3 separate regions of the Homo sapiens genome follow, and regions 1 and 3 are each linked to region 2. The links are contacts of gene promoters, found by promoter capture Hi-C in human tissues and cell types (Jung and others, 2019). All regions are on one chromosome and are shown on one strand. Each heading gives the region's core, a stretch centred on a gene start or on the middle of the fragment in contact. The rest is flanking DNA. Distances are from core to core; before and after follow the strand shown. Region 1 overlaps UNC80 (unc-80 subunit of NALCN channel complex). Region 2 holds the start of UNC80 (unc-80 subunit of NALCN channel complex). Region 3 overlaps MAP2 (microtubule associated protein 2).

Region 1 (3,164 bases), core at 644-3,143, 180 kb before region 2:
AGAAAATCTGTCCAGATGAAAGTAAGTTGACTCTGAGTGCCCTGGGAATGATAAACCACCTCCTGATTATTATTGTTTATTTGCCTTTTGTTGAAGGTAAATGAAACAACACTGGAATAGTTCAAAGACCACCCAGGAGGCAGAGAACATCTAGAATGCTCAAGCAAACAAAACAACACAAATGCCTATTTATGAAGTTGGTTTAGATTTCTCTTTGACAATTTCAAAAGAAGCCTTGGTATTTTCTTGTAACTCTAAACTCTCACCTTCTTTTCTTTTCCTTGGAGGTTTTCACACTCAATATTGACTATGTTCAGGGTTCCTTTCATTCTCAACAGCTGACATTCGGGTTGTATGAAATTGAGAGACCATAGAAGAATAAGGCGCAGTGAATTACCTGGTGTTCACCCCAGACGACATGGTGTGATTGGCTGTGGTGGTTCCCTTATGACCTTGGTCACACCTGCTCATCTGTGGGGCTGTCATGGGCCTGTAACAATGACAGTAATCACCACAGCAAAACAACAACAACAACAGAAATGGAAACATTTATTAAATCCTCAAGTTACTGAAGCACACATAAGTTTTAAGTTAGTTTTAGAGTCTTCAAAAGACAGGCTGTCTAGCTTTGGGCTTTTCTGTTTGTTCTGAGAGGCACTTTAAAAGAACATTGATTCCCAGGGGTTTATAAGCTCATCATGATTTAAGTTCTTCCACTTCTTTGTTCTGAGTAATAGACTCGTCAAAATGACTCTTCCAACAAGACATTTATGAAATATCTACAGACTTCTAAGTCTGTACCAGTTGAGAGTAAAGAGGTCATTCTTCAGTTCTACTGGGTAGTTCACCATTCTAGATAATAAGTAAAAGGCAAGGATGTATGTACCACTTTGGCCACCTACACCATTATCAACTACTCTATTTTTTCTGAGAAACTATCAAAGAATAAAAGAATTCTCCTAGTCACATCACACCTAAGGCTACCCAGGAAAGTGAGTAAGTTAGTATCTTATAAGTCAGTAATTTAGATCGTTAGTAATAGATTTGAATCATCTCATTTTATATCTGCCAGATTTACTTCAAATAATAGGTAAAATTTGCCTCTGTATTGGCATCTAGGACGAAAAAGGCATAATGCAGTTTTTTTTAAAGCAACTGCTTTTATGAAATCATCAAGGTTTGCTTCTTTGTTGCTCACTTTCTGTCTGCTGGGGATGGCTAGAAAGTAAGCTTTTAACGATCACACCAGATCTCCTCTTCCTGTGCCTGTTGTGATAGACACAATTTAGAGATGGCTCCCAGTATCTTTGCCCGTTGGTGTTACTCTAGTGATTATGTTACATTATACGGCAAAAAGGGGGAGTATCTGCATAGGCCTAATCTAGTCACACCAGCCCTTCAAAAGCAGAGAGTCTTCTCTGGCTAGGGCAGAGAGATTTGAAGCATAAGGATTCAAGATGCTATGCTGGTGCGCTGCACATGTATACATATGTAACTAACCTGCACAATGTGCACATGTACCCTAAAACTTAAAGTATAATTTAAAAAAAATTAAAAAATTTAAAAAAAAAAGGATTCAAGATGCTATTGCTGGTTGGAAGGTAGAGGGGGAGCATGTGAGAAGAAATGCAGGTGCCTTCTCAATGCAGAGTGGTGCCTGGCTGACAGCCAGCCAGGAAATGGGACCTCAGACCTAAAGCCGCATGGAACTAGATTCTGCCAAAAAATTGAATGAGCTTGGAAGTTCATTCTTCCCCAGTGCCTTCAGATAAAAGTTCAGACTAGCTGACAACTTGACTTCCACCTTGAGAAACCCTGAGCAGAGAATTCTTATCTTCTTTTTGTAAATACAGTGAAGCCAATTTTGGTTTGAGTAACTACTACCAAATAATGAAGCTAGTCTTCTCTGCCAAAAGAATATTAAATGCACTGGAATATTTAAAGCCACATAATTTTAAATGCCAGAGCTCCATCCATAACTCTTTGTGACACTTCGAGTAAGTCAATTTTGGATAAGTTAATTGACTTATCCTTATAAAAAGGTATAGAAATGAGGAAAGCTTTAACATTACGTAATATGAGGAGAAATAGGCTGAGTATGGTGGCTTACACCTGTAATCCCAGCACTTTAGGAGGCCGAGGTGGGTGGATCACTTGAGGCCAGGAGTTCGAGACCAGCCTGGCCAACATGGGGAAACACCGTCTCTACTGAAAATACAAAAATTATCGGGGCCTGGTGGTGCATGCCTATAATCCCAGCTTTTTGGGAGGCTGAGGCATGAGAATTGCTTAAACCCGGGAGGCGGAGGTTGCAGTGAGCCAAGATTATGCCACTGAACTCCAGCCTGGGTGACAGAGTGAGTCAGTCTCTCTCTGTGTGTGTGTGTGTGTGTGTATATATATATATATATATATATATATATATATATATATATATATATTAGAAATACAGTGGCATTTGGGAACAATTGACTGCTTTTCTTTCTTCTAGTTGTAGGAAAAGGCCAGTGACATAACCAGATGGGTACAGAAGGAAGAGTGTAAGTCTTTCATTTCTCTTTAGGATATTCTTCTGGGACTTTCATGAAACCATCAGCAATAGCATAGAAAACTATTTCTCCTTGGAAGAGATAATTTGTCATGGCTGTCTGTGCCAACTCTTCCCATTTCCTTAGTTTAGGTGCATATGAACATTTCAGGATGATAGTCTACAGAAGGCTTTTGGGCAATATTCTGCTTGCCTAGTTTGGCAATGTAGCTCATGATTAGAAACTAAACATCTGTTGCTGCTAATGAATTACAATCCCACTCTCTCTTTTTCTTGCTGATGCATGCTGAAAAAGTCCTTCCTGGACTAAAGGGCTTCCCCCTTACCAGCACAGCAAGATGGGGCTGGGGGAGTTGGTGCCTTTTGGTGGAGGCGTAGACAATTTCACACTAAGGATCTGGCACTTTAGATTGGACACACAGCATGGCAGAATGGAATGGAGGAGCAAAGACACTAAACCCAGGAAGAAGGCTTCCCCATCCCTATCCTGGGGAAGAATATTTCCTGGCAGCTAATTTAGATGGGAACAGAGCAGAAAAGCCCATCATACGCATAGTGTCCTGCATCCACCTTCCCCACTTGCATTTTATTTTTTTGTCTCATCCAGGGCTCCCTG
Region 2 (2,906 bases), core at 108-2,607:
CCACACAGAATAGGGAAATAATTATTAAATGGTGAAAATCACATACCACACAAGAAGCTTCATATTGCTTCCCCAGTTTGGGCCTCAAAAATGCACTGAAAAATTAATAGAGATATTTGTTAATAAACATAAGTAAAATTATTATTAAAGCATCCTTGTGACGTATTTTTCAATGAATAAGACAGGATGCTATGAAATTCAAATTTCATGCTTCCTTATAGCTTTTTAATGAGCAGGTGTTGAACAGCTGATGACATTTTCTTTTACACGTGTAATTGCATATATGAAAGAGAAGTGGATCTCGATGGTTTTCGGTATCCACTCTTAATCTGAAGACTTCTAAGATTTTAAATCGCCAGTGGTCAGAAGTGGTGCATTACTTACGTGTACAGTCATAATAAAAACTGAAAATTGAACACGGCTTATGGGTCATAATTTCCAGAATCTAATATCTTATCTGATAAATCTCTAAAATAACAATAATAAAGAAAACCTTTTCTGTTTATTGGAATAGGTGTCAGGCCTTTCCGGGGTTGTGGGGGAAGGTCCCTTATCACAAATCCTCAGGAGATTTAACTGGGGAGATTAATCTGAGCAAAACGGTTAACAAGTGGGCATAGCAGATATTCGCCAAACAGGAGCTGGAAAAACAACAGGTCACTGGGCTAGAATTACAGCAGGAGATGGAGGGGGAATTGGACGCAGGAGCACAACCAGTCATAATTATCTAGCTCCCCGCCCCCTCTTCCCAGGCTCTCTGCCCTCCCACCCCCTAAAATAATGTATACATTTATGCGACAACTGCCAATCTGCTTGTCGTCAAACTTCACTGAAATATATACATATATATACATATTTTAATGCGTGTTTTTAAGCTGGTGCAGAGGGCTTGTTTTCCAGCCCCAGAGAGGGAGCTGCAGGCTGTGGCGCGGCCTCAGCGGCGGCGGCGGCAGCGGCGACCCGGGCGGCCCCAGGAGCGCCCCCAGCCCAGGGCGGCCCGCGGTGCGCCCTCTGCGCCCCTCACCTGGTTTGCCGCCACAGGAAGGTCTGGATGGGCAGGGGGATGCCGCGGCCGCCGTCCTGCTCCTGGCCCTCGGAGCTCTTCCTCTTCACCATAATGGTGGCTCCCGGGAGTCCTACTGCAGGACCCAGCTCTGTCTCCTCGCTAGCCGCCGCCGCCGCCTCCTCCCGCTGCTCCCAACTCTCATCCCCTCCTTCCCCGAGGCAGAGCCGGCTCTCTCCGCCCTGATCCCCCGTGCCTCTCCCCTCCCCCCACCCCTCCCCGCGCGTGGAACATGGCTGCGGGAGGAGGGGAGGGCTGGAGGAGCCGCGGAGCGAGGAGGGGGGCGCTCGGAGCAGCGGTCCGCCTCGCCGCCCCCGCACCCGCTCCCTGCTTTCAGCACCTCCCACTGTGGACAGCGGCCCGCGCCGGGCTGCACGGCCGGAGAAGCGAATCCGGGGCAGCTTGAGCCGCAGGGGTACGGCCCAAGAAGTCCACGCTCCGCATCGCAGGCGCTCGTCCCCTGCGCGGCCTCTTCAGCCCCCGGAATTCGGCTTTCCCCGCTCCGAGCTGCACTCAGGAGTGTCCCCTGTCCTGCTTTCCAACCTCAGCATCCAAACTGTCGCCGTCTGGGTAGGAGGAGCTTTGGGGAACCGCAGAGCAGTCGCTAACCCTGGCATCATTCTCACCTCCAGCAAGGAGATCAGGAGTCCAGGGGTTAGCCGGAGGAACACATGAAAATTATTAGAAGTGTAAACCAGGAAGGTGAGGCAAGGTTGGCAAGTGAGAGGAAGCTTGAAAGATCTTAGATATGAGAAGTTATTTTTATATGATAACCACAAGAAATAAACCTTGTTTGTTTTCCTAAAGCAGGAATACAAAGTTCCCAAAGTAACCAGTTGTGGATATCAGTTAATTGCAAATTGAGGAAGAACATTTGAATCATGCTGTGAGGAAATGTGGTTTATTACAGTCCATTAAATGCACTTGGGTGATCCTGTTCGCCCCCAGTGATAGCTACCATTTTCCTTCAGTTGTAATAGTCAAATGCTTATATGTTACATATATTAATATTTTATAGTTGGATTGCTGTTAGATATATTATCTAGGAGTAAAACAAGTAGGCCGGGGAGGGGGGTGAGGTGGGGTGAAGCAATCGGAATAGTAACTACCTGCAATTCCTCCTCCTCCCCCTCCTCCTTCTCCTTCTTCCTCCTCCTCCTCCCCCTTCTCCTCCTCCTCCTCTTCTCCTCCTTCTCCTTCTTTCTTCTTTCTTGTTCTTTGACGGAATCTCGCTCTTCAACCAGGCTGGAGTGCAGACGTGTGATCACGACTCACTGCAGCCTTGACCTCCCAGGCTCAAGAGATCCTCTCAGCTCAGTCTCCCCAACAGTTGGGACTACAGGTGTGCACCACTACTCCCAGCTAATTTTTTATTTTTGTAGAGATGGGGGTCACACTATGTTTCCCAGGCTAGTCTCAAACTCCTGGGCTCAAGCAATCCTTTCACCTTGGCTTCTCAAAGTTCTGGGATTACAGGCATGAGCCACCATGCCTGGCCTCATCTTTTAGAGCAAAGATATTGGTGTAATCCATGAAATGAAGAATCAGACTCCAGGTCCTAATCTCAACAGATGTAATATTTCATATATAATTAACAGCATAGTATATATCAATATTTTTTGCCATAGAAATAAATTCTTCATTTACTTTCTTGAAGTTATCTTTTATTATGAATCTCAAAAATATGGATCTTATGATCTCAAATATGGATCTTGAAACAAAGAAAGATTCTAAGTACAGTTTACTCAAGGCATATTTATTGAGTGTATTTTATATACTCATAGCTCTATGGAGCTATATGGACTCTTGCTCACAAGGAAGTCTGAATATTAAGAGAAGACAG
Region 3 (3,027 bases), core at 289-2,788, 200 kb after region 2:
TGAACCTCCGAGATATTCATATTTCACTGACAAATTTTGCACAATTCTAAAAGTAATAAATTCTCGTTTTTCTTTATTCCATCAGTGCTTTTATTTCACTTATCAAGGTAAAGCCAATGGGATGGTATAAATGGAGAGAGAGAAAGAAAGACAGGTTATTCTTATTGTCAGCATTCAAAGTCTGACTGCAATTTAATAAAAACACTTGCTTAAAAGCCATATTTAGATTTCATATGACATTACCACCTAAGCTCATGAAATAACTATACTCAAAGTTCTAGTCTTCTCACATACTTTTACTAAAGTAAAATAAACCAAACTTCTTTTTAAAAACAATGTCACATGAACTATAATTATGAAAAATAATTGCTACTTCAATTCCTGAAGTCATAATCTCATTACACTTTAAGAACTATGTTGGGAATTAAAAGCTCTCAAGAGGTTGAAAGGAAAACTATAATAGTTGAACAACTAAGACTCTCATACATTGCTGGTGAGAGCTTAAATTAATACAACCACTTTGGAAAACTGTTTGGCAATATCTAGTGAAAGTAAATACTAAACTAAATATATGGAATAATATATGAACTTCCAGAGCAGATAAAACTAATATTCAGAGAAAGAAATCGGAATACTGTTTACCTCTGTAGAAAGTAGTATGAGAGACTGTATTGACTTGGAAGATGTACAATGTCTTCTTGACCTGAGTGGCAGTGACATGGGGTAGAGGGCACTCTATTAATGTAATGTACCTTCATAATAAAAATTGTAATAAATATTATGGTGCCATTGTTTTAGAAGTTCTTCATTCATAAGTTTTAGGATCTATAGTGAATATTATGCAAAAGGGTTCTTGTATAAGCATATATTTTACACACATACCATGTAACCATGGCTGTGTAAATAAAGACTATATGATTATGTGTATATTAAATAAACAAATTGTAAGGGCACATTCTCCTTAGTAGGGAGAGTATGTTTTACATTGGCTTTTAGTAAATAAATGGCAACTGTAAAGTAAAAGCACATGAAATGAGAAATGGAAGTAAAATTTGTATTTTAGGAATATGGCAACAAGTGAAAGTATTTGTGTGAAGCAGCCCTTACAGAACTACGCTATTATGACAAAAGAATGGACAGCTAAGATGCTTCCCGTATCATCCTTTTCACAAAAATCCATTACCCATTGAGGCCTATCGTAATCGTAAGTTTATTTCAGGAATCACTGATTTCTTCTCTTCCAACCCAAATCTTACATTTCCTTTTAGGTTCATTTAAAATTGTGCCTTTTTCATAATGGCTTCCAAAATTCCCACAAGCACATAATGTCATAAAGCTCTTTCCTTTCTCAGAATCGCCAACATATAAATCAAAAAACAAAAACCATCATTATACTATAATGCCTGTTATTAGATACGGGCTTGGTCCATTTTTCAGTAATTTACATTCAGTTATTTATTCTAATATTTGCGAATTTGAAAAGCATATGACATGATTCTGATAAAATGATTAAGAACCTATAAAGTGCCAGTCTTTTTGAGTACATTATTTTATTCAACAATTCTGAGAGTCATGTGCCTCCATTTTACAGTTGAGGAAATAGGCCTAATTAGGTTTAGTAAAGTGCCCAGGGGAACACAGCTGGTAAGTGGTAGAGCAGAAATTCAATCCCTGGACTTCTCAGCTAATTAGTTTGTAATTCAGCCTAACACTTAGAAGGTATCAGAAGAGGAAGAGATAAACATAGAACTAAGAATTTTCCATTTACACTTACAAGATAGCAGAAAGGGAAGAGATAAATTAAACACAGAATTAAGAATTTTCTATTTTTCCAGGAGAGGGAGTTTAGACAGACTACTTGTTATGTAAGTAGGCTGTGCATAAAACAGATAAGATTAAAAATATAGATTTTTACTGTCAGAATTATTTCAGATTCCATCAGTTCATATTTAAATAATATATATGTATAAACAAGCATTCCTGGAGGTGAGGAAAACATCTTAATTTTAATTACTATCTATCTGGTTTAATCTTGGCAGAGGATATAGAATATATGAGTGCAATATAGGCTCATGGGTTTTTAAAGAACTTTGCTGTTTGACAATTTGGGCTTATTATGATTGTTTTGAAACATCTTGTTGAAATTAACTCCTATCTTAGAAGTACAGATGATAATAGTAAAGTACGTATCTTAACACAATCACTACCCTTATTTTATTCTATCAAGTTAGAAATCATCAAACATCATGGTGAATCTTAAACGTTACATGAGAAAACACCATATCATGTTATGTAATCTATGTCCATTAAAAAAGTTAACACATTTTTAATAGTTAAATTTTGGTGTGGACACTTTTTCATTTCAGACAATTCTATTCTTTCCATGAAGTTTTCCCTCAGATATTGCCTTCTCAAGCAGGCTTCACCTGACCATCCTATTCAATACTGCAATCTGTAATTCCTACTCCCAATCCCCCTTACTCCATTTTGCTATCATCTTCTAATGTGCCACATAATTAATTTACTTGTTATGTTTATCCTTTATTGTCTTTCCCCATTCACTTGTAAGCTTCATGAAGGCAAGACTCTGCCTGTTTTGTTCATGAATGTATCCCAAATACCTAGAACTAGGTCTGGTATATAACTGGTGCACAATAAATATTCAATAAATATTCATTCATGCATGCATGAACACTGAAACACTGAAATTAAAACATTAAAGCTCATATAAGAAGCATAAATTACCTTCCTAAAAGTCTTAGGGCTAAAAGTTTCAGAAATCATGAGATAAAACATGTAGTGTAAGTGTTTCATTTATTTTGGGTCTTGGTTAGCTATTTGAATATACAAATTTTAGATTTTTCATCTTTGGCACATTTATAGGGAGTTTGAGTAACCCCTCTTCCTTTACTTCAAGTTTTAAAAAGTATTTACTTATTTTTTTATTTCTACAAAAATTATTCTAGCAGTTTTTCTTATCTACTTGTGAATCCTTAGTTATAACTAGTAAATTTATTTTTATCTTAC

The links. Contacts are between HindIII fragments. The study calls those that stand out against the background at their distance.
Region 1: a contact is called between a fragment that was not itself captured here and the fragment with the promoter of UNC80 in region 2, in 1 of the 25 tissues and cell types used here (H1 embryonic stem cells).
Region 3: a contact is called between a fragment that was not itself captured here and the fragment with the promoter of UNC80 in region 2, in 2 of the 25 tissues and cell types used here (dorsolateral prefrontal cortex and mesendoderm cells).

What each region holds. Positions count from the first base shown.
Region 1 is chr2:209,954,970-209,958,133 of GRCh38, reverse strand. It overlaps UNC80 (unc-80 subunit of NALCN channel complex), which reads right to left. Exons shown (of 65, transcript NM_001371986.1): 49 at 398-490. Among named protein-coding and RNA genes, the nearest start is that of RPE, 46 kb to the left of the region's middle. The HindIII fragment of the contact is 3,752 bases long and covers 18-3,164 here.
Region 2 is chr2:209,770,283-209,773,188 of GRCh38, reverse strand. UNC80 (unc-80 subunit of NALCN channel complex) reads right to left here and starts at 1,357. Exons shown (of 65, transcript NM_001371986.1): 1 at 1,025-1,357; 2 at 47-95. The coding sequence starts at 1,116. The HindIII fragment of the contact is 3,928 bases long and covers 1-2,750 here.
Region 3 is chr2:209,568,992-209,572,018 of GRCh38, reverse strand. All of the region lies in intron 2 of MAP2 (microtubule associated protein 2), which reads right to left. Among named protein-coding and RNA genes, the nearest start is that of MAP2, 150 kb to the right of the region's middle. The HindIII fragment of the contact is 8,691 bases long and covers 1-3,027 here.